Regions from separate parts of the Homo sapiens genome. Here regions 1, 2, 3, 4, 6 and 7 are each linked to region 5. Evidence: promoter capture Hi-C in 16 types of primary human blood cells and fetal thymus (Javierre and others, 2016). All regions are on one chromosome and are shown on one strand. Each heading gives the region's core, a stretch centred on a gene start or on the middle of the fragment in contact. The rest is flanking DNA. Distances are from core to core; before and after follow the strand shown.

What was found. Contacts are between HindIII fragments. The CHiCAGO score rates a contact against its expected background, and 5 or more counts as called.
Region 1: a contact is called between a fragment that was not itself captured here and the fragment with the promoter of KIF26B in region 5, in 7 of 17 cell types (total B cells, endothelial precursors, naive B cells and 4 more). The highest score is 8.2, in total B cells.
Region 2: a fragment that was not itself captured here is called in contact with the fragment with the promoter of KIF26B in region 5 in 13 of 17 cell types (M0 macrophages, M1 macrophages, total B cells and 10 more); the score reaches 10.2 in M0 macrophages.
Region 3: a fragment that was not itself captured here is called in contact with the fragment with the promoter of KIF26B in region 5 in 1 of 17 cell types (naive B cells); the score reaches 5.5 in naive B cells.
Region 4: a contact is called between a fragment that was not itself captured here and the fragment with the promoter of KIF26B in region 5, in 1 of 17 cell types (total CD8 T cells). The highest score is 5.3, in total CD8 T cells.
Region 6: a fragment that was not itself captured here is called in contact with the fragment with the promoter of KIF26B in region 5 in 1 of 17 cell types (erythroblasts); the score reaches 5.2 in erythroblasts.
Region 7: a fragment that was not itself captured here is called in contact with the fragment with the promoter of KIF26B in region 5 in 4 of 17 cell types (naive B cells, fetal thymus, naive CD4 T cells and 1 more); the score reaches 6.2 in naive B cells.

Annotation. Positions count from the first base shown.
Region 1 is chr1:245,958,296-245,962,598 of GRCh38, reverse strand. The region is part of intron 5 of SMYD3 (SET and MYND domain containing 3); the gene reads left to right. Among named protein-coding and RNA genes, the nearest start is that of SMYD3-AS1, 150 kb to the left of the region's middle. The HindIII fragment of the contact is 4,538 bases long and covers 1-4,049 here.
Region 2 is chr1:245,978,213-245,982,482 of GRCh38, reverse strand. All of the region lies in intron 5 of SMYD3 (SET and MYND domain containing 3), which reads left to right. Among named protein-coding and RNA genes, the nearest start is that of SMYD3-AS1, 130 kb to the left of the region's middle. The HindIII fragment of the contact is 2,367 bases long and covers 1,399-3,765 here.
Region 3 is chr1:246,038,433-246,042,316 of GRCh38, reverse strand. The region is part of intron 5 of SMYD3 (SET and MYND domain containing 3); the gene reads left to right. Among named protein-coding and RNA genes, the nearest start is that of SMYD3-AS1, 68 kb to the left of the region's middle. The HindIII fragment of the contact is 370 bases long and covers 2,021-2,390 here.
Region 4 is chr1:246,125,428-246,129,352 of GRCh38, reverse strand. The region is part of intron 5 of SMYD3 (SET and MYND domain containing 3); the gene reads left to right. Among named protein-coding and RNA genes, the nearest start is that of SMYD3-AS1, 19 kb to the right of the region's middle. The HindIII fragment of the contact is 2,599 bases long and covers 50-2,648 here.
Region 5 is chr1:245,153,275-245,157,613 of GRCh38, reverse strand. It overlaps KIF26B (kinesin family member 26B), which reads right to left and starts at 2,629. Exons shown (of 15, transcript NM_018012.4): 1 at 2,127-2,629; 2 at 931-1,332. The coding sequence starts at 2,189. RefSeq lists silencers at 681-1,220, 3,088-3,287 and enhancers at 3,142-3,817, 3,818-4,339. The HindIII fragment of the contact is 4,692 bases long and covers 1-4,339 here.
Region 6 is chr1:245,931,287-245,935,279 of GRCh38, reverse strand. The region is part of intron 5 of SMYD3 (SET and MYND domain containing 3); the gene reads left to right. Among named protein-coding and RNA genes, the nearest start is that of SMYD3-AS1, 180 kb to the left of the region's middle. The HindIII fragment of the contact is 944 bases long and covers 989-1,932 here.
Region 7 is chr1:246,109,198-246,113,491 of GRCh38, reverse strand. The region is part of intron 5 of SMYD3 (SET and MYND domain containing 3); the gene reads left to right. It overlaps SMYD3-AS1 (SMYD3 antisense RNA 1), which reads right to left. Exons shown (of 4, transcript NR_183265.1): 2 at 3,599-3,710; 3 at 1,963-2,161. Among named protein-coding and RNA genes, the nearest start is that of SMYD3-AS1, 2.7 kb to the right of the region's middle. RefSeq lists a silencer at 1,591-1,885 and enhancers at 2,440-2,939, 2,940-3,441. The HindIII fragment of the contact is 3,194 bases long and covers 839-4,032 here.

The DNA.
Region 1 (4,303 bases), core at 531-3,030, 810 kb before region 5:
GCTGACATGTTGATAGGAGCTTAGCCAGGCTGTCTGGCCACGAAACCTAAAATCATATGGCTTGTTTAGTTGGTAAGGACATGGAGGAATAAAATAACCATGTGGACGGCACTGTGCAAGGTCTTCAATGACAGAGGCGTTGAACTTCAGGCAGAGTTTAGCGATCATCTCAACCGTGTCCTTGTTTCACAATTCTGGGATCAACATCCGCAAAACTACACTTCTGACAACATCAGGATCCTCTAATATTTCATGTATACTCATCTTGCAAGATAGGTTGTAAAATAAGATGAGGAACCTGAAACAATGAGCAGTTAAGCCACTTGCGTCAAGTCCCAAGGGTGGCAGGAAAAACAGAGCAAGGAGTGAGATTGATTACTTGCAGCCTTTGGATTTCACCATGAAGTTGGTGGTTTTTAAATGGTTTTTTCTCCCCTAACATCGACCTTTCTCCAGTCAAATGGTGGGAAACCTCACATGTAAAACAGATGAAATACAGCTGCTGGCTCACGTGGGAGGCTGTGTCATGTGGTATGATGTTTAGAAGGAGGGTCTTGGAAGCCAGGCTGCTCTGAGCCTCAGTTTGCCCATCTGCAAAGTGAGGATAACTACTATACGTGCCTCACAGGGTTACCGTGGAAATCAGCGAAATCAGTTCCCAGCTGTAATAACCGTGCAGTTTATTCAGTCAAAAAACTTTTATCCGGCAGCTTACTGTATTCTGGGCCCTGTTAAAAGGACGAGGTGATGGCTGTGAGGAAACAGGAATCCCGGCTTTCATGGAGCCTACATTCTCAGTCTCAAAATACATGTTAATTATAGTAACATGTGTCGAAGGGGCATCAGACCCCTCCTATTGATACCTCCTCTGTGTGTCTGGCTCTAAAGGTTCCTTAGAGCACTGTGTGAAAACCACTGTCCTAGGCTACACATCTTAACATCTAGGATGTTTTTAAGAGCTGGAGTGGGGAAAAAAAATGGAATTATATGACAGTGTTTAAATTTTCCATTACTGACATAAACTATTCCAGAAACAACAGGTAGAAGAGAAGGATGATTTAGGCCTCCAGTTTGGAGAGTAATTAGTGACTTGTCTGCTTTTCCTTCCTTAGTCATCTTGAGCACTTGCAGCTGTGCATCTTCCTTTGTGCCTGATGCAAGCTGATATTTTAGGGTGAAAGGGTGAGAAGGAAATTTAGATTCAAAGTGCTGACAAGATAAAGTACATTCTGTAAAGATTCATTCCCCTTAAAATTGGAGTTCTTACCGAGATATCTTCACTTAGCAGACTGATGTCAGGAAAGTAAAAAATGGAAGGGAACTTTGTGGTTGAAAATTATGTTCCTAGAAATGAGGGTTGACCCTGTTTCTATGAGAAGAGAGAGCATGTGCGGCTCTGCTGATGGGTACAGAGAAGTGCCTTTGTGGTAGCGCCCAAGGGAGAATGCAGAGTAGACCACCATCTCTACTCTGATTGTTTTCAATTCTTTCTCAGATGCCTACAAACATTTAAACCTTGTCTGACTCTGCCTTCCCTTGGTAGTTTTAAGGCATATGGAAGAATTTCAACAAACTGAATTGATTTGGGGGAGAAGGAGGTTAGATTTTTTTTTAAATGTTGCCATTTTAAGGAGCTAGATAATATACAAGAGACCTTTGGCCTTCGGCCTTCCTGTGGAATAGGTCCCGAGGGAGTTATGAACTTCCAAATGTGAAAATGCCTATGTAATTATTTTTCTCTCTGTGAAAAATGCAAAGTATATCTGAAAAAGTTAAGTAATTCCTCTAGATGTGTAACGATTCTATAAATTCAGGATTAAAGTAATTTATAAGGCTAATTTATGCCATTTATTTATTTATTTATTTATTTAGAGACAGAGTCTGGTTTCTGTCACCCAGGCTGGAGTGCAGTGGCATGGTCTCAGCTCACTGCAACCTCCACCTCCCAGGCTCAAGTGATCCTCCCACCTCAGCCTCCTCAGTAGCTGGGACTATAGGCACACACTACCACACCTGACTAATTTTTGTGTCTTTTTTTCGTAGAGATGGGGGTTTTCCCATGTTACCCAGGCTGGCCTCGGCCTTCTAAGTGCTGGGATTACAGGTGTGAGCCACTGTGCCCAGCCCTATGCCCATTCTTTAGTGCTGGTAATAGAAATGAACCAATCTATCAGTTGGTTTTCATGTCGGGGTCATTTTCAGGCAGAAAAATAGATTGTTGTCCCTTGACCTAAATTGTCTGCTTTCATAACAGAAAGCCAATGATAACAAAGCCATGTGAATCAGTCTTTTCCTGTGGAGTCAACCTTACAACAAGGAGGATTCAAACATCTTCAGTGAAGTAGCAAATGATTACATATCACAGATCTTTGCATCAAGCAAGGTCAAGTATGCACGTGTTAACTCAGTGAATTCTAAGTATCTGATTAAATTTTGTAAGTCAATGCCAATTTCCCTTTGGACTCAGAGTTTACCTGCATAATTTTGTTTTATTAATATTTTAAAATAAAAAGATATGTGGCCGAGCACATGTGGCTCACACCTGTAATCCCAGCACTTTGGGAGGCTGAGGCTGGTGGATCATTTGAGTCACGAGTTTGAGAGCAGCTTGGGCAACATGATGAAACCTTGTCTCTACAGAAAATGGAAAAAGTTAGCCGGGCATGGTGGCACACACCTGCAGTCTCAGCTACTCAGGAGGCTGAGGTAGGAAAATCACTTGAGCCTGGGAGGTCCAGGCCACAGTGAGCTGTGACGGCACTACCATACTACAGCCTGGGCAACAGAGCAAGACCCTGTCTCAAAAATGAAAAAAGAAAAGTGATGTTGTCCAGTGAACTAAAAAAACAGAGATTTTACTCATTTTGTTCTGTGAATGTTATGCTTTATTTAGAGAAATGAGCCATCAAACAGGGAAGACAGCACTGGTATAAGATGAGCTGGCAGAGACCTTCAGGTGGTCACAAGAGAACACAGTGAGCAATGGGAAAATAAGGCAATTCTCTTAGCACTGGAAGGCGTTTAACAGACCATCTAGTTGGTCAGCTCCCCCTAGCTTACCTTTCACCCTTTGTTTTATAAATAGGGAAACTGAGATGAAATCACCCAAGACTTTTGGGACTGTCTACCAAAAATCACACAACCAAGTCAGAGCCAGAACCCAGGTTTTCTAACTATGATAGTTGTGTTACTGTTGTGCCATCCTGTCTTCTGAGATGTTGGCCCATCTTCATCAGAAAACTTTGATCTGGAGCTGTCGGGAGCCGTAGAATAACAGAGCAAGCATGGATGTCTTGGCTTGCCTAACACTGCTCCTCACTTAGTGTAAAGAGCTCTTGGCCGGGCATGGTGGCTCATGCCTGTAATCCCAGCCCTTTGGGAGGCTGAGGCAGGTCAATCACTTAAGGCCAGGAGTTTGAGACCAACCTGGCCAGAGTTTGTTTGTTTGTTTTTTGTTTGTTTGTTTGTTTGTTTTTTGAGAAACTCCATCTCTCCTTAAAAAAACAAAAACAAAACCCAAAAAATTAGCTGGACATGGTGGCACACGCCTATAATCCCAACTACTTGGGAGGCTGAGACGTGAAAATCGCTTGAACCTGGGAGGCGGAGGTTGAAGTGAGCTGAGATCATGCCACCAAACTCCAGCCTGGGAGACGGAATGAAACTCTGTTTCAAAAAAACCAAACAACAACAAAAAAGAGTTCTTAATGCTCCTGAAAGTTATTATCTAGCCTCTGCTTAAATACTGGTTCATGAGATAGCCCACTCCCCCAGGGTGGTGATCCCAGATATACTACCCTTTGATTTCTGTCCCAGTTCTTCTATTTGGGGTCTGGAGCACCTATGATGTGTCAGTCACTGTACTATATGAAAGAGATACAAAGTAGGATAAAATGTAGCTTCTTCTTTCTAGGAATAACCCTAGTAGTAAAAGAAACAGACAAGTAAATCAGCAATGATGGTTCAGTGGGGTAAGTGGTATTGTTAGGGGTATGTACTTTGCTACGGAGGAGGAGAACCTAAATCAGACTGGAGAATGAGGAAAAGCTTCCTGAAGGAGGCAACCCTTGAGCTAAGTTTTGGAGTAGGAGATAGATGAAGCAAGAGAAAGGGCAGTCACACGAATGAAAGAGCCTGTGGAAAGTACATTCATCAGCACAGCACTTTAGAAAATGGTGTATGGTGTTCTGTAGGGCTGGAAAAAGGGAGATTTGTGGCCGGTGATGAGAGGAAGGGTGAGGAAAGGATGCAGAGGCCAGATTGTGAAGGGCCTTCATGGATAAGCAGTCTGCATCGTGTATGA
Region 2 (4,270 bases), core at 1,333-3,832, 820 kb before region 5:
ACATTTGATCAGAAATTGAGACTATAGGATGCTACTTCTATTTAAATATAAATGTGGGACAGATGTAGTGACTGACATCTGTAATCCCAGCACTTTGGGAAGCCCAGGTAGGACACTTGTTTGAACCCAGGAGTTTGAGACCAGCCTGGGCAACATAGTGAGACTTCATCTCTACAAAAAACTATTAGCCAGCTGCAGTGGCTCATGCTGGTCCCAGTTACTCCAGAGGCTGAGACCAGAGGATCACTTAAGCCCAGAAGGTGGAGGCTGCAATGAGCTGTGATCATGCTACCGCACTCCAGCCTGGGTGACAGAACAAGATCCTGTCTCAAAAACTCGAAATGTGATTCTATTACAGCTGTGCTATTAAAACTCCCACCTCTTTAAAGATGGAATTGAGCATTACCCAAAAACTTTAAAGGGAGAATGTCTCTGGGCTATGTAAAGAGCTACAGTTCCACAAACCCTCCTAAAAGAAGACCCCACGTGCTCAAGGTCCCCATGACCGTGGGTCTGCACCCAGAGCCAGGCTGGAGGGAGGGCTGGGAGACTCGCCTGCCCAAGCCTGGTTTGAAGACCTGATGCATGGAAGCAACAGTTCTTTGAGAGGACAAAATAGAAAAAGAGAAATAGTATGGAATTCTTTCTTTCTGCAACAAGTTCTATGTAATCGTTTCCCAAGTTAAAGGACCCCTTCTTACTTAACTCTAACCATAAACAACTTTATTGGAGCCAGAACTTACACATGCTTTCAGTATTAACATTAAAGGATCATTCTCAGAAAGTCTGGCTTTTCTGTTTCCTTCTTTGCTTTTGTTATGGCAGGATAGATTGGACTTTTTCTTTTAGATCTAAAAATCTTTTTTTCACTTGGTACCTTGAGCATTTGTATTTATAAATGTTTGGTTTCTGACAGCTGTTTTGGGTTCAGTTGTATAAGGGAACCTTTAAATTTAAACCGCTTTGCAAGTGTTTATTCCTTTAAAACATTTCTAATGTAAATGTATATACATAGAAGGATTCTGAAAGGTTCTTCTTAGTCAGGTTTAATCTGTCCTGACAGCTCAATGCTATTGAATTCTTAAAATGAAGATGTCCTGGTTGTCTGTGCAGCCCAGGGCTCCCAGAGGGCTCTCAGGTAGCTAGTTAACCAAGGGACACCCAGCAGTGGCAGATCCTCATCCTCTCAAAAAGGGCAGAGCTTCGGGACACTGGTCTAGCCCAGCAGGCATCCCCTTAGCACTGTGTGCTGTTGGCACTACCTGTCCTAAAACCTCAATATTTATTTGGCCTCATGTTTATTCTTTGCAGACTTATTGAGCACCTACTATAAATCAGGTAGGTCATCGTCTAGATAGGTCTGACCCAGATAAACAAGGTTTCTGTCCTCTTCAAGCTTAATTTTAAGTGTAATCACAGTGGGATACTCCAAGTTAGGGATCAACAGACCTCTCTCTAAAGGGTCAGATAGTGAATGATTTAGGCTTTCTGGGCTATACCGTCTTTCTTAGAACTGCTTTACTCTGCCTTGTAGCTCAAAAGCAGCCATAAGCAATACATAACTGGAAAGGCAGGGACGAGTACCAACAAAACTTGATTTACAAAAACAGTGGCCGAGGTACCATGGGCTGTAGTTTGTTGACTGCTAGTCTAGACAATGCCAATCCACTGAGACAGAATCCATATCATACAGTCTGGAGTAGGGATTTGTTTCCCAGACTGCAAAGCAGCTTTCCAGTCAACGTCGGCAGCCATAGAGAATAAGTGCATTTCTCAGCATTTGCTGCCTGTTGCAGAGTTACTGACAGCTGCATTTGTCATGTTCTTGAATTATTTTTTCCACCTTGGTTTAATAGGTTTCCCAAAAAGCCTCAGTGAGGAAGCATCACCCTAATTTGTTCTACATGTCATGTGTGTGATAAGCAGAAAGGAAACAGACAAACTCAGACCTTGAAACTGGAATGAAGCATTTAATTCCTGCTCCCATGCTAGCTTGGCAGAGTTGAGCAATACATCTACAGACGTCCTTCCAACACAATGACTTCGTTGCCCTCTGTGTGGCCTCTTACCTGGTGCTGGGCTCTAGGGTTGATGTAGGACTTGGGTCCTGCCCTCAGGGATCTCACATCACAGGAGTGGAGTCGATGAAGTACATTCCTGCCTTCATTCCCGAGGCATGTCTGACTACCTGCCACACATGTGCAAGGAGAGCAAAAGTGACCAAGGCCTGGACCCCGTCCTAGGTGAGTTCACAGTAAAGCAAATGAAAAATCATGCACAGTAAGGTAAAATCCAGTGCTGCAGCCTGTGATAGAGATCATGCCGCTTGGGTTGCTGAGTTCTCCCCCTCGTTGTAATTCAGCAGGCTTCCCAGTGTGCCCTGCATCCTCATCTGTGAGGCCGACTTCACTATCATTCCCACTTATAGGTGGAGGAGACTGAGGCACAGAGCTCCCAAAGCCCCACAGCTGGCGAGTGGCAGGGCTAGCGTGCGATGTCCACTAGACTGGTGTCTGACGCAGAAGCTGCGCTTCTCACCCCTGGGATCTGGAAGATAATTCTGATGTGTGAGATCCAGGAGAATGCATTGTTTAGCCAGAAAATGTTTTGTAACTGCATTTTTGTTTTTGACAGAAATGTGACTGCCCACTGAATAGTGAGCATTGGAATTAGAGACCATCTAGCTGCCGGGGCTGGGTTTGGTCATCTTGCGTTTTTTAAGTCTGAATTGGGATGCTGTATTCGATTCTTAAAACGGCCATGGTGACATACCACAAACAGGGTAGCTTAAAACAACAAAATTTTTTTCACAATTCTGAGGGTAAAGGTCTGAAATCAGGGCGTGTGGGCAGGGTGAGCTCCTTCTGAGGCAGACTGTTCCGTTTCTTTCCCGTAGCTCCTGGTGGCAGCAGGCTGTCCTTGGTGTTCCCTGCTTGTACCTGCATCACCCCAGTCTCTGCCCCCGTCTTCATGTGGAACTCTCCTTGTGTCTGTCTTCTCATGGCCACCTTCTTACTGGGATGCCAGTCATGTTGAATTTCGGGCCTACTTACTCTCTAGTGTGATCTTTTCCTAACTCATTCTATCTACAGTGACTTTATTTCCAAATAAGGTCACATTTTAGGGTACTGGGGGTTAAGACTTCAACATAATCTTATTGGAGGGAACATAATTCACCCCATAACAGACACCTTTAGACAGGATGGAACTTCCTTATTCACCCCTAGCCCATCCCAGTTGTTTTTACCCTGGAAAAGATTCCCAAATCTCTGTTGCCATTGCCCTCCTTGGGCATTTGAGTTGACTCCTTCTTTCTTCAAGCTATTTCTGTGTGATGACAGAGAGAGGGTTTAAATGACTCATCTCCTATCTAGGTTTCTTTCATTAAGATGCCGAGACTCTTCTTTTCACTAAATATTATTTCCACCCACTCATGGAGCAGAGAGCCACGTTCCATAAAAGGGCTCTCTGATATACGGTAGTAGTCACATGCTTTTAGCAATGCATACCTGCCAAGAATGGACAGATACCTCAGATTAGGCTGTACTGTCCTGAATTTTTGGTCTCTTTCCCAGGTGTTTCCCAGGAAAGAAATTCATTATCAATAAGGTGGAAAGGACTTCTCAGTATTGAGCCCCATAATTTGCCTTCGTAGTGTTGGAGGGAACAAGGGGAAATGGGAGCAGAAATGAGAAATGGGAGAGGAGTTTGGGAAGTAAGGCGGAAAGGCCAGCACAGGTAGCATTGCTGACGAGAGACAAAGCTTGGATGAGGCCACTCTGCCTTTCACCACCAAGGCCTGTAATAGACTGGCCAGGCTCCGAAACGCTGGACTCAACGTTTAACTGCCTGCTCTGGAGGATTTAGGACAAACAGGGAAAAACCTTTTGAAATAGTTCTCTCTGCCCCCCGCCCTCCCGCACTTATTTTTTTTCTAATAAAGATGATTTCTACCCACTCGTGAAGTAGAAAGACGCAGTCTATAAAACAGCTCTTTAATTCTGGAAACTTACCTCTGGATTCAGATCAGCTCTATAAATGACTGGAATGGTGACTGTTGTACTTATTTTTTGTGGGAACTCTTAGTTGAATTTTACTTCATTGCAATTGTGGTTAATTTCTACTGAGTTTTAAATGCCTGCACACACTAGGAAAAGTTTTTTGAGCGCCTACTGTTGGGTATCATGAGAGGCACGAAGATGGATAAATCATGATTCTTGCCCTAGATGAACTTATCAATTAGTAAGGGACAGAAGATGCCTCCCAGCAT
Region 3 (3,884 bases), core at 956-3,455, 890 kb before region 5:
TTGTTTCCAATCTTAGTTTCTCTCCATTCTTAAAATATTTAGTATATATCTGTGAATCCAGAGAAACGTAAGTATTTGTTACTGCTGGAGAGTGTTATAAATTCAAATGATGAGCTATATAAAGGTAGAATTTAGAGGGAAATATTAGCTTTTCTTTGTAGCTGTGCCTTCCAGAACACACAGAAAACTTGAAGCTTTCTGCAGTTAGAGGATTATGGGCATTCAAATCAAATGGACTTGGGGTCCCATCCTCAAAATGTGACTTATCAGTCATAAGACCTTGAACAAATTGCTTAATCTTTTTGAATCCATCATTTTCTCAACTATGAAATGAAAGCAATAAAACCAATTTTGTGGTGGAGAGTGTTAGAAAAAGTGTTTCAGAGTGTACCTCATAAGGGCCCAGGAAATACGCAGGTAGCAATTTTTATTGGTAGTTTCATCTAGGAATACAAATTATGATTAAAGCGTATGTATTTAGTCACCCTTTTTTTTTTTCCCAATAAAGATTACATACCATCTAGATTGAGCTAGGTATAACTCTGAGTCCGTCCATTGGAAGAGAGGTTATACCCCCTCCAATTCTCTTCCAGAACCAGAAGTCATGATTTTTCTGATATACCCAGTTTATGTGATCACTCAGGCTATGAATGTTTTTCTCTCTCTTCCTTTAGCGTTACCTACTTAGAGAGTATGAACATTGCTGAGTTTACCCACTACAGGTCTTGGACTTATCGTGTGCATACGACGTAGGGCCCTGGCAACACTGGGATACATGCCCAGGCACACACACACAGAGACTTTCCTTTCACAAAAGAAGTTTAACTTGGGACAAGCTAATAAGAAACTTACTATTAGAAACTTCAGAATGCTGTTATGTAGGTTTCAGCATATGCAGAATTTTGTCTTTTGATGATTAGTATTTTTATTTTGAAGTCCGCACTGAGGAGAGAGAGTGAGAAACATGAAGTCATTTCACTCTGTGGGGACTCTAAAGAGCTTCTTTCCACCCTCAGGATGGTGGGTCCAGCGTGTGTTGCTTAAGGGTGGGAATATTTTCTGGGAAGTGCATCTTCAGGCAACTTCATAGCTGAGCAAACATCATAGAGGTACCTACACAGACCTGGATGGTATAGCCCACTATACACCTGGGCTGTGAAGTATCGTCTCTTGCTCCTGGGCTATAAACCCGAACAGCATGTTACTGTACTGAATGCTGAGGCAATTTTAACACAAGGTTAAGTATTTGTGTATCTAAACATAGAAAAGGAATAGTAAAAATACAGTATTATAATCTTATGGGACCACCATTGTATGTGTGTTCTGTCCTTGACTGAAATGTCATTATGCAGTGCGTGACTATATATCTGTCTTTTTTCTACCATGTGGTTCTTGGAGAATTTATATATATCAGAGAGGGAAAAAGACACAACCATCTATCTTCTAGTTATTTGCTATTTGTGCGATATTTTACATGATTTTCAAACATATTTCTAAGCAGCAAATATTAAGATGTGTTACAATCAGTGACATGTAGACCACAAAATTCTAGCGCTCTATAAGAACTGAGGAATCAATGACTACAGGAGTTTTCAGAATATTTTACCACCTCAGCACCTTTTCAAATGAAAGGAGATACGGGAGCCCCATGAGTCATTTTGTTCTGGGGAATGGAGTCGGTAACTACTGGTTTAATATAAGCCCCAGCTGAGGACCTTGACATCCAGAAGGATTTATCCCCACGTGGCTAAACTTAAATTGTTTCTCTGTTTGGTGGCTGGCTGCATTTTGGGTTAATTTGGCAAATTCCTACGAGAAAGCAGTGCTCAGACGGCAGCATCAGCTTCATTGAGATACTTCTTCTAAGAGAAGTGAGACGTTGGGTCAGCACCATTCTGAGCCCAAGGTCACATTTTCGTGAGAAAAAAGATAAGCGGCAGCACTTGCGTTTGTGGTGGCGAAGCACAAGTATTTAATTTCTGAATAAGCTGTGATGGTGGGGTGTCTGTGCCAGGAAGCTTGAATCCGGGTCATGTTCCTACTTATTGAACCCCTCCGGAGCTACATAAATCCTCTTCTGTTTTCATCTTTGTTGTTATTAATATCCCGGTTGTATATGTAATACAGGAAATATCCAAAACAGCCCAATATTAATTGCAAACCACGTGTTAGAATACAGCTATTTGAAAAGTGAATGCTATTTCTGTTTCATGATAGGATCTTGTAAGGTTGACTGAATAAATACAGTTTAATACTAGCCGGGAGAAATGTCTTACTTAATTCTATTACATCACAGATCATGTCGGACGTTAACTGTAACTTACGCTAAGACAATGGTACTAATCAATGCTGCGTTAATGTTGTTACTTTTCTAGTACTTGAAATAAGCTTGGGCTTAGCCACTCTTCTTCTCATATCCCTTTTGATCTAGTGGCAAGATGTTGAGAACTATTGGGCCTGGTCTGTGTCTTTGAAATACAATATAGGTCATTGGCAGAGAGTACTGAACCTGCGCCCTTGGCTCCATTACAGCATGACCTAATCAATTGAGAAAACGCCTCTCCACGGCTTTTCTCTGGATGATTCTCCCCTCCTTACTACCCTGTGACTGATGTTTGTCATCTTGTGGCTCAACTAAACTGTCGCCAGTTACTCCTACTCTTTTGATCTCACATGCTGTGAGTCTTACCCATTGGCGCTTAGTAGAATTTATGGAATCAATTTGTGTAAATGGAGACATGAAATCTCAGTTTGTAGTATCAGTTTGAGGGATACAGCAATCCCACATTTCGAAGGCTGCTACAGATCATTCACAGGTGTTAGACTTATTACAGAGCTGTGTCTTTCTTATTCCCCAAAGCCTTTGCCACTTTGGTTTTATATGTTGGTTTCGGTAAATACACATTTTCTAATATGCATGTTGTAGACAGTATAGTGAAGTGTGGTGGGTGCATATCTGCATATACCTATGTTTACATCTAGATGAACATATAAATAAAATATACATCTCAATATGCATGTATATGGGGATGAGGGCATATAAATATGAATAACTTTGTTTTGGTCAGGACAGAGCAACCGACTACAATTGCCAGGATAATTTTTGTAATTCAACAAGAGAGATTTTAAATTGTTATTACACATTGCTATTTGTATTTTTTAGGATGCAAATCCATGCTGAAACCTCCAAATTTCCACGGTCTATGTTTTGTTCCTTCACTTATAACTGTGTCTGCTTCTCCATGGTAGGAGAAAACAAGGAAAGGAAATTGTGACTTTAAAATATTAAACTCTGGTAGAGACTTGAACGGCCAATTTTTGTTTATTTGTTTGTTCTTTTTCCCATCCTTTCCCCAGTGTTTTTTTCCTGAAAGTCTTGCCTATTTTATGCAAATAACATGTATTTTAATTGGCAACATTTTACTTTCCCTGTTTCTACTTACAAAATTTCCACAAAGATATTTGTTTTAAATTTATAGAATGCAAAAACTAAATTCATTACAAACTAAGGCTAGGAGCCTTTAGACCCTGGAGCACAGTCATGCAGGAACAGAAGAATGAGTATGAAGTGGAAATCCCGAGAGATCCCCTAGTTGTAAGAACTCTAACAGATGCCCCCATGTCACTGATGTCGGAAAGATGTTGGAGCTAGGCAAAGCCTGATAGAATGGGTGATTTGTGAAATTTTTATACAGCGATCACCTAGAAAACACTTTTCTAATTTTCTTTTGATAGGATTCGTATTTGTGTCGAGAAGTGTTTTTTAACGTCTAGAATACAGTGGCCTGAGAGTTACCCGAGGCACATGTGGATAGGTACGTCCTGGCTCCCACCAGGATGCTCGCTCCATTTTGTGTCTCAGCCTTCCGTCGAAAGTTTTCATT
Region 4 (3,925 bases), core at 100-2,599, 970 kb before region 5:
ATCTTTCATTGTTGTAAAGGTGTTAAGTCAACAATTACCTATTAAAGCTTTCATGACCCCAAAATTGAACTATTCAGAAATACAAGTGCATTAAGACATTATTTTTAAAGGCTTAATTTTTTTTAGAGCAGTTTTAGTTTCATAGCAAAATTGAGAGATTTTGAAGACACAAAGATTCCCCATCTGTCCCCTGCCTGCACCTTGTCTTCCATCTTGCATATTTTTTGAAGGATCGCAATGAACAAGAATGGGATCAACAGTGGGGAGGGCCACACACCTGTAATCCTAGCACGTTTGGAGGCCGAGGTGCGCAGATCGCTGGAGCCCTGGAGTTCGAGACTAGCTTGAGTAACATGGCAAAACCCCGAAAAATACAAAAAAATTAGCAGGGTGTGGTGGTGTGTGCTTGTAGTTCCAGCTACTTGGGAGGCTGAGGTGGGAGGATCACCTGAGCTGGGGAAAGTTGAGGCTGCAGTGAGCTGTGATCGCACCACTGCACTCCAGCCTGGGCAACAGAGTGAGACCCCATCTCAAAGCAAAACAAAACAAAACCAAAAAAGCACACAACACACACACACGCACAATGGAGCTGACTAATCCAGATACTCCTTTCACCCCCTAAAGGGAGAAAAAGAGTATCTGAGCTCTACTGAGTTTCTGTTGTGGCGAGTATGGAACTTTGAAGTCAGACTGCCTGGGCTTGAGGGCCAGCCCCACTGCTCACTGGCTGTACCATGTAGAACAGCTGTTGTACTCTCTCTAAATCCCAGTTTGTTCATCTATGAACTGAGGATTCATAATATTTACCTTGCAGGCTTTTATAATAAAAATTAAATAAGATTTCTATGTAAAGCACTTATCAATGTGCCTGGCCCATAGAAAGCACTCAGTAAATGGTATGTGCTATTGTTCATTCTTTCCACAAATACATACTGGTTAACTTACCCTGTTCCAGACACTTTTCAGCATGCTGGACTGTATAGTGAACAGTTCCTCCCCTCATAGAAATATATTCTAGAGGTAGGAGGCAACTATAACCATAATAAATGAGCAAATTACTTTGTATGCTAGAAACTGGTAAGAGCTATGAAATAAAACTGAACATCGTAATAGAGATGGGGAGGAGGAGTGCAGGAATTGGGGCAACTTGCAGTTTTACATAGAAAGTCACATTAGGCCTCGTGGAGAAGACAACATTTCAACAGTGACTTGGAGGTATTTGATTGTTATTGTTACTACCAAGTAGGATTTTGTTCTACCAAACAGGGCTTTGCTTTACGCCTACATTTCTACCCTTACTGCATTTTGTAAAAGTTGATGATAATAATAAATGCATACTTAATACTAATAATTAAAATAGTAATACTGGAAATTATAATCTATGTTTACACTCATTTTAGCTATATAATCTCCTCTCCTTTTCGTATTTTTCTTTTCTTTTCTTTTCTTTTCTTTTTGAGACAGAGTCTTGCTCTGTCTCCCAGGCTAGAGCACAGGGGCGTGATCGTGGCTCACTGCAACCTCCGCCTCCCAGGTTCAAGTGATTCTCCTGCCTCAGCTTCCTGAGTAGCTGGGATTACAGGCACGCGCTATCATGCCTGGCTAATTTTTGTATTTTTAGTAGAGATGGGGTTTCGTTATGTTGGCTAGGCTGCTCTTGAACTCCTGACCTCAGGTGATCCACCCGCCTCAGCCCCGCAAAGTGCTGAGATTACAGGCGTGATTCACCGCACCCAGCCTCCTTTTCATATTTCACTCATTTCCACTGCAGTGAGTTTAGGGATTAGACCAGTAAGGAAATTAGTTCTTTTTGCTTACAGACAACAGAAATAGAAGAAAACAAACTAGAAATTAGCTCCTTAAAAACAAAATACTAAAACAAAATACAGAATTCTTCTACAGGATTTCTCAACTATCTTTTGTCTACTTTATCCAACTTTCCAATGCAGTATCATCACACTAAAATGCTAGTATTTCTGAAAATACTTGGGCTCATCTTTGTTGAAGTTATTGACAAAAAAGTTCTCACCTTTTCTGTGAATGAGAAATATTGAGGTGTTTATGCAGTCTATGGTTTGGTGCTGCAGTTGACTCAGGTTGGCATGGGAACTGGTGCCTTGTGACCGCTTACAATAACCAAGCATCCTCAAAGAACAGGAAAAGCTGCCCTTTCAGAGTTCTATATGGCATTAATCTGTATTTCTCTCTTCTAATCATGAGCAAATGATATTTTCCTTTACAGAGCTAGCATCACCTTTTGGTACTTTTGCACTTTACCTTCCTGTGTAGATACATTGGAATCCGCTCTCTACGGTTTCTCTGTGCATCCAAAGCAGTGGTTACTAACCCTATTAGATTCAGTGCTGCATCTTTGTAATGTGTTTTGGAATATCCCCTTCATTTCTGAAATGAAATGTATTAATAATATAACTGCCTCTACACATAAATTTAAGTATTAAAATAGTGTTACAATTTTAATATAAAGAAAAGAGAAAGATAGCTTTCAGTGCATTTTATTATGTAAATGCTTACTTGTTGACTATTCCTGGAGATAAAATGATGTCATCAGATGTTTGGACCTACTTGCAATGAATATATTTGGATTAAAGAGGAGTAAAACAACATTCAACTGAGTATTGGCAAAAGCTTTTCTTTCTATTTGAAGCTTTGAAATAAGGAGTAAATAAGTATACACATAAACATACATAGAATCCTATAAATGTAACATCTGTGTATGTAGATTGATGCCTGGTTATTGTGTTGGTGATTGAAATGCCATGAATTGTCGACATGATTTTTCACAATGATGAACAACTCTTGGTACAATTGCAAACAAAACAAAGTATAATTCCTCTTCAATTTACATTTAAGGATGTTGCATTCCTTGATAATTCAGTGACTACTAAACAGTGCAAGAAACACTTGTGTCTGTAAGTAAAATACAGTTAGGCTCTATATTCAAAGAAGTAACAGGATTTTCTCACCTACCGGCAAGTCTGGTGGAACATCTGAAAGACTTGGAGGATACTGGGTAATTATTTGTTATCTAAGGCTGTCCTGTCTAGCAGGCCTGGCTACAGTCTACCACATGCCATTGTGACAATTGAAAATACTGAAAATGGTCCCTAGTACCCCCAGTGAGAACCACTGATCTAAAGCTCCTTTGCAGTGCTCATGCCCAGATGGGGATCCTGTCCAAGCTGCAGTGCTGTGTTGCTCCATGATTTAGCTTGGCACGGCACTGCGCTGTGTGTAAGTAATGCTTCTTAGTGCTCTGGAATTATTCTGCTTGAAGCACTTTCCAGATGGCTGGCTGATAGCTTCTGGGGATACTGAAATGCTGTTCCGATGGTTTCTAACCCTCTAGTCTCTTCCTTCCAATACATCTTATAGATTCCTCAAAGTTTGTTGTGTATAAAATGGATACAGTGGATAGGTAGTTGCCACTCCTTTTTACTACTACTCGAATTACAAATTATGTTTTCTTGGTGGTGATGTTTCATTGATGGACTGATTGCTTGATTGGCTGTTTTCCTCTCTGTCGTTATCTAAGGTTCATAGCCATATTGCCCATATTTGTCTGTTATTCAGGATCCCTCTCACCACTTCTGATCGTCATCACATCCCTCTTGTTTTTGCCATTGCCATTCTTTCTTTTATTCCTCTTAGCTTTACCAAAGGGTCTTTTATTATATGTTACCACTCCATCGAAGTATGTCTTTCCTTCGAGCTCATAAATCGTGGTCCTCAGCTGAACTTTAAAAACTGTTCTATACTCAGTAGATTACTTTTAAAATATTAAATAGCTAAAAATTTTAAATTTTATTTGTTTATTCCTCTTTAGTTTATCTATATCAAAGTGAAGAGGTATCTGAAAGACCTGGTTTCTAGAAATCTCAAGTTTCTTTGTCATAGAAACTTGTCA
Region 5 (4,339 bases), core at 1,380-3,879:
GCCTATGAAAACATCAACGTGTGTATCTGCATACGCAGGTTGGGCCAGCAGACGCAGTCATTCCTAAACGCCTACTCGAAATCACAGTATTTCATTTCTAAAGTCACGGAAATAATAAACCAGAAATTGACGTTGAACCAACAGTGTCAAAAACCTCTACAGCAATCCACTCTATTTCCTTGATATTGCTCTCTAACCACTGATAAAAACTCTTTGAAGTGGCCGAGTAAATATGATCATTTGATAGTACTTGGACCCAACAGTGCAAATACAATCGCATTGCTATCCCCTGGGGGCTCGGGCCAGTCACACACTGCGGGCAGGGTTGCTATGGAGGAACCAGTGTGCTTGGCGCAGGAGCAGGCCAGGAGGGAGCACTGCTCCGAAGAGCCACCCGCCTCCGGATCTTCCTCAGACACACACACAGACTGAGAAGGGGAAAATGCTGGCTTTCGAGTATGTTTCTGTTTCTGCAACCGCGGAAAGGATGGACCACAAACAGGCAGTGGGAAATGCCAGCTCCGAGCATCAGCTTGCTTTTACAGCTCCCGCTGACATTTTTGTAAAGGATCACAGGTGGGGGTGGGGAGAAACATCGAAAGCGCAGCCTGCAGCCGCCAGGGAGAGCTGGGAGGGGGCGGCAGGAGAGACCACCTGGGGGCCTCCCCCGTGGGCCGTGAGGCCTGTGGCCACGGGCGCCCCTTCGCGCTCGGGACTCGGTCCTCCTGCCCCCCGGGCGGCCTGGCTGAGGAAGGGGCATGGGTCGCCCCGCGTGCTAGAGCCCCGTGAGGTGTGGAGCATCCCCAGCGCCGCCGGGGGCTCTCGCGTGGAGCCGGCGCGCAAGGTCGCGGCGGGCTGAGCAGCTGCTGTGGGTGGCGGCCCGGCCCCGCCCTCCCGGCGCCTCCCCAGCCAGCCCCGCGCGGCGCTCACCTTGCCCGGGAAGGGCCCCGGGAGGAGCAACCTCAGGGCCTGCCTCTTGAGCTCCACCAGGCGGGCGTTGCAGTTCTCGCACCAGACGCCGCGGTCCGAGCCGGGGGAGGAGCCGCCGCCGCTGCCGGAGCCCGGGGAGCCTGTGCCGAAGCCCGGAGAGCCGCCCAAGGAGCCCGGCGAACTAGTGCCGATGCCGGGGGAGGCGGGTCCCGGGGAGCCGGTGAACGAGCTCGGGGACGAGGTGCCCGAGCCGGGAGACGGGGTCCCCGAGGAGCCGAGCGCTGAGCCCGCGCCCTCAGGAGTGGGCCGGCTGCCGGCGCGCGACTCCTCGTATGCTTTCCGGTACCAGCTTTCCGGGGAGAAGGGCGCTGCGGGCTTGGTGGGCGAGCAGACTTCATTCACCTGCGGGGAAGACACGCCGGTGTCAGGGGCTGCAAGGCGGCGGGCTGCAGCGCCCAGGAGCTGGGTCATACGTGCGCCACCAAGTACCCGCTCGAACCGCCCACGGGAGTCGGTTGGGGACCTCTCCAAGCCCTGCGGCCAAATTGCCCTCCGTCTGTCTCGTTAATTGTCCTTAAGTGAGTCCCCACCGCCCAGGTGACCCCTGCGCTGGTCCCCGGTGGCCTCCTCCTGGGGTCAGGAAGGGGACTCGCTCGGGGCCGTTTCCACGGCTTCTGCAAGGCGGGGGGGATCCATAGGTTCAGCGCCCCACGCTTTTGAAGCCGGCACCTATCCCAGCAAGATCCCGGGAACAAAATCCTGGAAGACCCTATGGGGGGGGTAGGGGGAGGGCTGTGATTTCAGGATTTTTATTCATACGGGGTCCAACTCTCCGGATCCTGCAGGTAAACGAGAGGCTCTCACGGCTCCAGCTAAACGATCCGAGGTACTGCCCAGCATTCATGGGAAACCCTCCCCTTCGGCTTCACTCTGCCTAGAAGTGCAGGAATGCGGCAAAAGTTACGGGTGCGTGGAAAGGAAGGAACGAGAGGGCTGAAAAAATTCCGAGAGCGAGGCGAGCGTGCGGGCGTCCCCGCGGCCGACCCGCCTCCGCGCACTCACAACCCCGCCAGCCCCGGGGGCGCCTCTGCAGCGGGGGAGAGCTCGGGGCCGGGGCCGCACGATCCCGGGGAAAGGGGGACCTCCGCCGAGATGGGTCTGGTAACGCGTCTCCGCGTCGTACCGTCACAACTTACCCCGTATTTCTTGCCCCTGGTGGAGACCGCAAGCCTCTCTTTATTCCCAGCTACCGAATTCATGGTGGCTTTTCCAGAGGAGAGTATCTAAAGGTTCCACCGACGCTACATCCAGAAGGTCCTCCAACCCAGAAGCGTCCCCCGGCTGCAGGGGGCTGGCTCTCAGCCCTCAGGGCAAGGTTTCTTCAGCGGTGGGGTGGGAGGGAATGAAAGCAAATGGATCCCACAAGTAATAGCACCAATTTGCAGAAAGGGTTGGGGTCGCTGGTTTATTCTTCTCTTCAAAGCATGCTTTTCCTCGTCCCCTTCTGCCTCTTCCAGCCGCACGTCCTCTTGTCACGGCCACATCCACAGAACTGGCATTTTCTTCAGCCAAGTCAGTCCGTGCTCCCCCACGAGGAAAGCGAGGGATACAATCAGGGCTCGCGGCCGCTGCCGGGAAGGTGGGAGAGCCGAGCCGAGTCAGCTGTGGGAACTTGTCTCCTTCACCGAGCTTGGTAACTGAGTTCAAAGAAATTCTCCCAAAATATAAAGATCCAGACTCGGGGAGGAGCCTCGGCGTGTCGCCGAGCCAATATCCGCCGGCCCGTTTCGCCTGACAGTTGCGCGAGGGCCGGGAGAGGGGCGGCTCCGCGTGGCCCGGGAGCGGTCGGCGGTCACAGCGCGCGTGTGCGCCCGGGCGCAGCGCGGAGGAGCCTCGGGAACCTGCCGCCCTCGCCGCGCCGGCCGGGATCCATTTTATGTGGCGGCGCTCGTGCCTGACATTGCGAGGCCTGGAGCCGGGCTGGGGCTGGGGGCGGGGGATCGTCGATCTCGCCGCGTGCGGGGAAGTTCCTGGCGCGCGGCCCGGGCCCGGGGCTCTAATGAAACGCCGCTGCGCGAGCCTGGAGCCCGGGGGCCGCGCGAGCGAGCGTGGCTGGACGGAAATGCGGTGCCCCAGCCTCCCCCGCCCCCAAGTTCTTTCTCTTCCTGACAAGGCTTGCAGGTCTGTCTGTGAAACGCCGTGCAAAAGGGATTGAGTCACAAACAAGTCCACAAACATGCCGGGTCCTCCCCCCGCCCTTTGTTCTCGGAGAGCTGCCGGGCAAACCTTTTCTGGAATTGCCCTACCGACCCCGGGCCGGCCGGGGGGCCACCCTCCCCGACCGCAGCCGCAGGACTAGGGCCCTTGGTCCCCCGCCCGCCCGAGCCCCGGTCTGTGATGGACTAAGCCGCCCGGGGCTGGGACAGGTGAGCCTGGTGACCCAGCGGGCCGCTGCCGGGCAGGGGAAACTGAGGGCTTCGCCGCGCTGCACGCGGACGACTCTGGCCTGGAGAGGGGGTGTGGCGCGAGCTGGCCTTGGCCTCTCCTTGCGTGGGATCGGGCCCCTCGCCCCCCGCCGCCCGTTTCTTCCTGCGCCTGGGCCCCGCGGGGTCTCCGGAGCACCCCGTCATCGCTCCCTCTCCGATCGCCCCCCGCCCCAGTCCCCCGGCGCAGCGCCCAGGAGCGCAGGAAGCCGGCGTATGCCAGGCTCCACACGTGGCTGCTCTGGGGTGTCATTTTTCATTTCACGGGAGGACATTTCTTCTGGTGAGCCAGCAGGTCTGTTTTGTTGTGACCTTTAATTAACACCCCGCGAGACGCCTCTGGAAGGACTGGCCGGGCGCAGGGATCACGTGGGGTGTAACGGCATCTCCGCGCCCGCGGGGAGACCCAGCCCGGGGGTGGGCGAGGGCGCGAAGGACGTTCAGGGCTTTCTGGTCGCTGACTTCCTTCTGAGCTGTGGACGACGCAGGAGGGGGCAAGAAGACAAAGGTTCGGGGTTCTGGAAGCCTGGGGCCACGCCCCCACTCTGCCTTCCTCGGGGACAATTTCTTCTGTGCCTCCCGTGCTCTGCCCCACTCCTCCCCGCTCCAGCTCCTGCGCGGGAATATTTCACAGCCACCAAAGCGAGGTAAAAAGGTCAAAAGGAAGATGGCAAGAACAGAGTGGACGTTTCCGTTACGTTCCCACTTCCAATTTAAAAGCGATCCTATCAATAGGGGACCTTAGGGGGCAGGTACACCTCCAGGCAGCACGCGCCAGCTCCCACCCGCATCTGTATTTCGCGTAGGTGCCGCGAAACACATCATCGCCATTGGCCACGAGCCGCTTATCAGCCAAAAAGCAGCGTGTGGTGAAACGAGCCGGCGAGGCCGCGGGTGGGGAAGGTGGGGTGTCGAGGGGGAGTGTT
Region 6 (3,993 bases), core at 211-2,710, 780 kb before region 5:
TATATGTCTTCTTTTGAGAAATGTCTACTCAAATCCTTTGCCCATTTTAAAATTGGGTTGTTTGTTTTCTTGATATTGTGTTGCTTGAGTTTCTTATATATTTTAGGTATTAACCTCTTATCCGTTGTATGGTTTATAAATACTTTCTCCCACTCTGTGGGTTGTCTCTTTCTTGACCATTTCCTGTGCTATGCAGAAGCTTTTTAGTTTGATGCAACCCCATTTGTCTACATTGTGCTTTGGAGTCATATCTCCTACTTGCTTCTGTCTTTAATCAGGGGTCCATTAGGTTTGCAAATGAAATAACGTGACTAAGAAACAATGGAAAACTATAATGTCAAACTGTCGCAAGACTAGCAGTGTAGTGAAGATGCAGCTTAGTGACTAAGTCGTGAGCATGGGCCTTTGTCCCCGCAACCTTACAGCATGCTCCCTGGTAAAACTTGAGACCCTCCAGCAACTTCCTGGCAAAGGGAAATGTAGTTGGTCATTGTTTCTATTATGGATTTTTTTTTTAATTGAAATTGAAACAGATGCCGAAATCACCTGTACTCTCGTAAACCTTCCGGTAACACTTTGTGGATTCTGGGATTTGCGAATCATCATTTAAGAAGTATAGCCTCTCCTCTCCTGAGCTGACCTCCGTCGCCAGCCTGGTCCCCTCCCGCTGTTCTGGTTTGGAGATTTCAAACCCTTTAACTATGTGACCAAAAGAGGCAATGGGACAGGCAAGGACTGAATTGGGTCCTGAAGGATGGATAAATATTTGCCATACAGATAAGGAGGGATTGGGAGATACAATTTTTAATCTCTTAAGGTTTATGAGAAGATTCTGGAAAAAAATCTGTACTTAATAACCTGTCATATTCTGTGGGTAGAGAAAAATATACCCTGATTAAAATTCTTATTGTGCTTTTAAAGTTAGAGAAATATTAGTTCTAGGAGTCGGGGTGCCGGGGGGCAGAGGCAGTTATGTAGTGTAAAAGCTTCTGCTTCTGGTTTTCGTACCTGCCAACTCTTCCTCCTTCCAGTTTTTCTGTCCAGGGTTTAATAAAACTAAGTACATTAAACTCCGTTTTGAAAACTCATATTTAGTCCCTCTAGTTAGTAAACTTGATGTGCCTAAAGTCTTCTGTGCCAGACACTGTACTGAACATTTTAGACAGAAAAGTTTTAAAGGAGATGCAGATGGTCTTGGAGGAAACCTCTGTATAGTTGTGTTCAGAAACTGAATCCCCTTCTTTTTAAATGTGTTTTAAAATTTGTATATATATTGGGAAATTGAAAGTATTATTTGAAATAGGCTGTGTAGAATTCAGTAATTGGGGGAGGGGGCTGGGAAGTGGCTGGGTTCTTGTCTTATGGTGTAGAATTACTCAGCTCTGATTGGTTGTGAGTTTGCTTATGGCTGTTCTGATTTTTACCGTTGCAAGATAATGGCTTAGTAGTGATTTTCTCTTGTGTTGCAAATATCTCAGTTTAACTGCTGCTACAATACAAAGCCTTTAGTCCTAAGAATTTCAGGAAAAATATGAAATTTGAATACATGGTAATACACTCATTTTGTAAGGTATTCACTTTGTGTGTTGGTATTGATTTTGCTATTTGTGTCTAATCTACCGGGGAATTGCTAACCTCAGGACACAAATGTCAGATTCTGGACCTAGACTCTGAACCAAATGACATAAGAATTTGGTTCACAGAACATTTTAAGTTTCACTGTAGTTGTTTTTATAAAATACAGAGGCTCAATGACAACTCACTAGATTTTTGTCATCTAGAAAAACTATAATATTATATATGAAGGCTTTCAATTAGTTTAAAGGAAAAATTACAGAAAGTAAATATAACTTTGCATTCAATAATAAAACAATTTAAATATGTGTTTTAGTTTTAAGACATGGTAAAAATTTCTAAAGTAATACTCAAGCTTAATTTTTAGAAAGAATTCATTAACCCAGTTGCATTTATTTTTTATTGAAGTAGTACCATTAATATTTTTTTCTAAATGTTATCTTTTTGTGAAGTAAGCATTCATTAATTGTTTTAACCTGTGCAATTCCCTAAGAAAACTGTTTTCACAAAGACAGTACTTTGAAAAATGTTTAAACTTTTATTTCTGGGCTTTATTTCCATTCTTTTAATTCTTGATATAAAGAGCAATTCCTTTCAAATTATTGAGCACACATGGACATATTATCTACCTATTCTTGCACTAAAAAAAAGCCAGAGAGCTTCTGCATATCCACTGTTGCTATCAGTTGTGTATGTCAAAAATATTTCCTGTCAGGTTGTTAATTGAGATAGTGCTGGATGGAGCCAGCATTTTAAATAAAAGTGAGAGTAGGCAAAAAACTAAACCTTCTGTTTACTAGCCCAGAAAGACTAACACGTAACACTCAGACTAATATAGATGAAATCCAGGAGCTATGGCTCACTCCTGTAATCTCAGCATTTTGGGAAGCCGAGACGGGAGGACCACTTGAGGCCAGGAGTTCAAGGTCAGCCAGGGCAATATAGCAAGACTCCTGTCTCTGCAAAAAGTTTTAAAAAATTAGTCAGAGGTGGTGGTGCCAGCCTGTAGTCCCAGTTACCCCGGAGGCTCTGAGGGTGGATTACTTGAGCTCCGGAGTTCGAGGCTGCAGTGAGCCATGATCGCACCACTGCACTCCAGCCTGGGTGACAGAGTGAGACCTTGTCTCTAAGAAAAGGAAATAGATTTATTAGTGTCTTCTGTTTGCCAGGCTTTGAGCCAGGTACAGGACTAGAGTGATGAATGAAACACTGTGTCTGCCCTCCCAAGTATTTTACGATCCAGTTGTGTATGATGGCAAGTAAATGGGTAAATAATGATCCAGTATGATAAATGCTGCTAAAGAGGGAAGTCATCTTAGGAAATCAGGAAGAGTTTCCCAGTGGAAGAGACAAGCAAGCTGACATTTCCTCTTGTTAGCTTTTCCTTCTTAAACATTCCATCAGAATCCATGAAATAAACCGATGGAAAAAAACTGATAAAGATTTTTCCTATTTTGAAAAAACCGTTAATTTGCTTCATAGTCCAGGAAAAAACCATGCTGGTTTGATTCAGAAGTTAACAGATCAGATGTGTTTGACCTGGTTTTTTTGTTGGTGGATTATTTCAACTAAAGTTCTCATTATACTTTAAAATATTTGTTAAAACTTGTATCCCTTCCCAAATTATACACATTTAAAAATGTTTAAAATTTCAAAAATTAAACGTAGGACTTTCTGTCTTATATTTTTACCATCCAATTTATACATAAGTATATATAGACAATGTACTGTTGCTGCTTAATGCAAAATAGTTGTCCTTAAAGCAATTTAGCATTTGTTTACAAATATATATGTATAATTTTGCTCCTGATTTGAAACTGCAATTTTATATATTTAGAGGGAAAAAAGCCAAATCATGCTAGAGTGCACTAGATTTCATGTAAGAGCTGTTTGGAGCAGTGGAAGAGTCTCAGAGGACTCAGTGTGTTTTCATACTTCGTGTTCTTTCATGTAAACCTGATTTGAGAAATTCGTCATCACTTTTTCCTTTACAGAAACTTTATAACAAGTCAGCATCCATTTGTAGTCTCTGGTTCATCTCAAATGTTTAGCCTCTTCTCCTTTTTTTGTTTTTTGATGGCCTTTGTCATGTTTCATCCTAAATTTATATCTCTAGGCGCAACTCCTCTTGTGAACTCCAATTGTTCATTCTTAGTCTTGGCTTGGATTTCAAATTTAACTTAACCAAAACAGAACTGTTGGACTTGCTCTCAACTCCCTGTAACCAAATTTGTTCCTGTTAAATTCTTCCTCATCTTAATAAATGGTAGCTATGATCTTCCACTTGCTTCGGCCAAAAACTCGAGCATTATCCTGACTCCTTTCATTCCCCACAAGCCGTCCCGCAGTAAGTAAGGCCTGTTGGCTGTGCTACCCAGTTCTCCTGCTACCGACATCCGAGTCACCATTGTCTATCAC
Region 7 (4,294 bases), core at 1,186-3,685, 960 kb before region 5:
AGCAAACATCTAAGAGCAAAAATTATTTGAAACCTTTGTTCTTACCAAGACTAACTTTATCTTCATGTGGCACATTTTAGTAATTTACCTAGTTTGTAGCCATCTAACTAGAATTTGCTGATTGTTTATGTATTTCTTCAGATTGCTGATAGATTTTATTCTAATAAGCGAAAAGCAATTCTAAGCCTTGATCCTTAAAAGGTATATTTCCCTTGGCAGCAATTCTAGTGGAAACAATGGGTAGTCTCTTTTTATTAAATTTTATTTATTTATTTATTTATTTATTTATTTATTTATTTATTTATTTTTTGAGACAGAGTCTTACTCTGTTGCCCAGGCTGGAGGGCAGTGGCGTGATCTCGGCTCACTGCAAGCTCCGCCTCCTGGGTTCAAGCGATTCTCCTGCCTCAGCCTCCTGAGTATCTGAGATTACAGGCTCATACCACCACACCTGGCTAACTTTTTTGTATTTTTAGTAGAGTTGGGGTTTCACCATGTTGGCCAGGCTGGTCTCGAACTCCTGGCCTCATGATCCGCCTGCCACAGCCTCCCAAAGTGCTGGGATTACAGGCGTGAGCCACTGTGCCCCGCCTAAATTTATTCTATTTGTATGAAATAACTCTAAAAATTTGGTCTTCATTAGTGTTTTTACTTATACTTCAAGATGCTGAATTATTTCTGTGTAAATATATTGGCATTTCTGTTCTATAAGACAGCATTAAATGAAATAGTTTCGTTTCTTTTCCAAGTATATTTTTAAAAGTACATTAGTGTAGCCTATTTTTTATTTTTTTGCTTTGTCTTTTGATAGTGAAACAAAATACTACTATTCTAAGCTTGGGTTTTCAAAATACACATTATTCACGGTGTAAATTCTGCAGTAGCCTTGTATTGTAGCATATGAAGGAGGAAAAATTGGATCCATTTAGCTCTGATCCCTTTTTTGTTAGCAATTTATGTGTATAACCAACAGATTTCTCCTTAAGAAAACCTCATTATTAAGCTAACTTAGGGAAATTTAGTAAAGAAATGATTTGGAGGAAAGCAAATAAAGTAATCCAAATATACAATAATTATACCAAAATTTTAACATCGATTTATAAGAATATCTTACCACTTTTAAATTTCTTCCAAAATTGACAGATACTGATTTTTTTCATTAACTGTCAGTGGAAATCCTATGGGAGACAGCTCAAATTTTGACAGCTTCAAGAAAATGGATGGCTTCTCCTTCTGTGTGGTAATTGATCTTACCTTTTGAAGAATTAGCTCATAAGTATAGATTTGGAGAGAGTTACAATATGCAATACAGCCTTCCTCTTTTGAAAATAAGTCAGTCATTCTGTGAACTGAAGACTTCAGCATGAAGAAGGTTGCTCTGAAGGGCAGAGTATATAATATTATTTGGTTGCGACTTTTGCTAGCTTGGTGGCTCTTGAGAAATCTTTAGTGAACTTGCCAGTTTCATGTTTGTAGGGGGTATGCATCTATCCAGGATAATCATCCCCCATTGAAAAACTAACCTTTTCAAGGTTAAGTATAATGTGAAACAAATAATATTGCTCCAGAATGAATTTCTGTGCAGTTTGTATGAATTAACAGCTGGCTAATAAGAAGCTCTTGAAGTCTATCATAAGCAAGGTCTTGTATTAGCCATAGACTGAGCAGACCTATTGCTGCCTCTACCGTTTACCTCACATGGTGAAGTAGTCTGGGAAAAAGCAGTGTCACTGTTCCACTCCAGATAGCTGTCATTATGGTATTACATAAACTAGCAGACTGCTGTGGGACGCAAAGGGGATGTGCACCGTTTTGGTTATTTGAGGGGACTTTGGCATGCCCTTGTAGGAGCCCAGAAGGAAGGATCATACAGTTTAGTCTTAAGCTGTGCAAAAACATGACCACATGAATGAAACCAGTCTTCCTGAGGCCAGAGGGCTTATAAAGAGGAAAGATACACACCTTGAGTAGACTTCTTTTTGAGCAAGGATATCCAGAAGTAGAGTGTTAAGGCAAAGCAAAAGATTCTTTAGACTGCACTCAAGTCTGTCTTTATAGGCATTTCTTGCTTGTGTAGCATGGAAAGGACCACTGCTTGCTCAGTGTGGCTTTTTTTTCTGCTATGCTGGACCATGTAAGTAGCCATTGAGATAATTTATTCCTGAGTCAAAATAAGAGGGCATTAAATTTAGTAGAACTGAAGTTGGCACTGGCTAGACTGATTACTATGATGGGATCCCTTGGAGAGCATCACTGGTGAAAGCACCTGGATTCTATTTAGAAAAACTTAAGTATGTAAGTTGCCTTCTTTGGGGGATGAAACTTATAATGAACTATTGTAGAGGGTATGAAAGCCCACGGCATGTTTCTATCATATACTATATATATATATGCTATACTAAGATGTTATGCATGGGTCAGGGTCCTTGGTAAGGCTCACCTGTCATTTCTTATGTAGTTTATATTTGTTTCTCTTTGCGCAAGGATTTGGTGAGTTATCTTATGGACAATGAAAGGAGAAATGTCCTAATGCAGAGTTCGCTCCTAAGTTTAAATGAGAAATATCTAAAATCCTAAACCATGAACATGGTTCATGGTTTAGAACCCTTAAAATGGAATTACAGTACTTTTAAATTGGTAGGTGTAAGGAACATGGCTGCACTGCAGCCAGGCAGGATGGGCTGAGGTAAACATCCCGGGTGACTCAGCAAGTCTGTAGCGCAGGCGCGCAACTCCATGTGTAATATAAACAGCTATGTAGCCATAACATGGGAGGGCCATCACTTGGCTCTTTGCCACTGTTGTCTTTAAAAGGTATAATTGCCCTGGTGACACTGTGCAGGCGTGCTTGCACCCAAAGAAAGAGAGAGAGCACCAGATCTGTCTGTCTTGCAGCGGGGAGCCAGGACACAGCTCAGCTTGCTTGCGCTCAGAGGGAAAGAGTTAAGCTGTTGACCCCAAAGGGAGAGAGAGCCAGCAGAGATCTGTGCTTGGGAGTGGCTGGAACAAGCAGCCGAGACACACAGTGTAAGAGAGCTGCTGAATAAAATTGTATTTCACCTACCCGTAGCCCCCTGAGTGTTCTTTCAGCTGTCTGCCATTCATCTACCCACTCCCTTCCGGCCTCAGCATGGGCTGGAACCTGACCCTGGACCTAACAATGGGGATCTTAGGGACTTAAGAGATCATCTAAATGAACTCTTTACAGATGAAGAGACTGAATCCCCAATGGTTAAATGACTTGTCTAAGTCCACACATCTAGTTAGACGCTGAGCCAAGACAGAACCTGATTTCTGGTTTCTAGATGTGCACCCCTTACTCAGTGGCATGTACTGTAATTCACAGTTTCCATTCACTTGTTGCCAAGGTCTGCCACTTCCGAGAGTTTCACAGTTTTGGTGTAAGTGTACATTGCCAAATGAGAAATAGCTTGGAAATATAACTGAAGAGACATTATCTGTTGTGACTGCAGCTGAAGCACCAACTTTTAACCAGTATTAGCACTGCTTATTTCAGCTCCTATCCTTATCTCAAATAATTCTGCCTTCCTATAACACATGATGGGGACCCCTGGGAGCCGCCAAAAAGGACACTTACTCTGAGGTCTTGCCCAGGTCTCTGCTTCTTCCTCCTTGTTCCCAGATGGCAAACGGACATCCTCATAGTAAGACTGGGCTGCTTTCCACCTGCGCAGCCCCATGGTAAGCACCTGCAGCTCCAGAGGGAATTTATTTTAGTAAAACAAACAAACCTGGAGACCAGGAGATCAATTATCAGTAGTTTGGTAATAATTGAAAACTAGGTCAGAGGCTTCTATTCCTTTTTCCATGAGAGCTGGATATGTGAGGTTGTTCTTGATGAAAGCTGAATTTTTAAATGCAGGTTAATGGCTTTCTTGGAAGCCAGCAAGCAATTAAGGTTTTCTCATCCATGCAGAAATTACAGCTGCAGGGGGCAATTTTTAAAAATTCCTTTGGATTCTTAGAACATACTATATTTATTTATTTTCCCTTAAATTCTGACCTTAAGCTTAAAAATAAGTTTGTTAATACTAACGTTGTTTTCCCTTGAGCTAGCTTTGAACCTCAAATGAATTGCAAACTGCGAAGTGACTGCTGTAGGGCTACTCTTCAGTAAGCTGGTCCAGTTATATGGTAATGAATCCATTTATAAAAAAAATTGTATGTGAGCTGTTTCCAAGGCTATTATAGTATTTCTTTATCAGACTATACATAATTTTACGTTTGTAACATGGTACAGTTCCAACTGAATAGGCAGTAATTTTCTTTATTA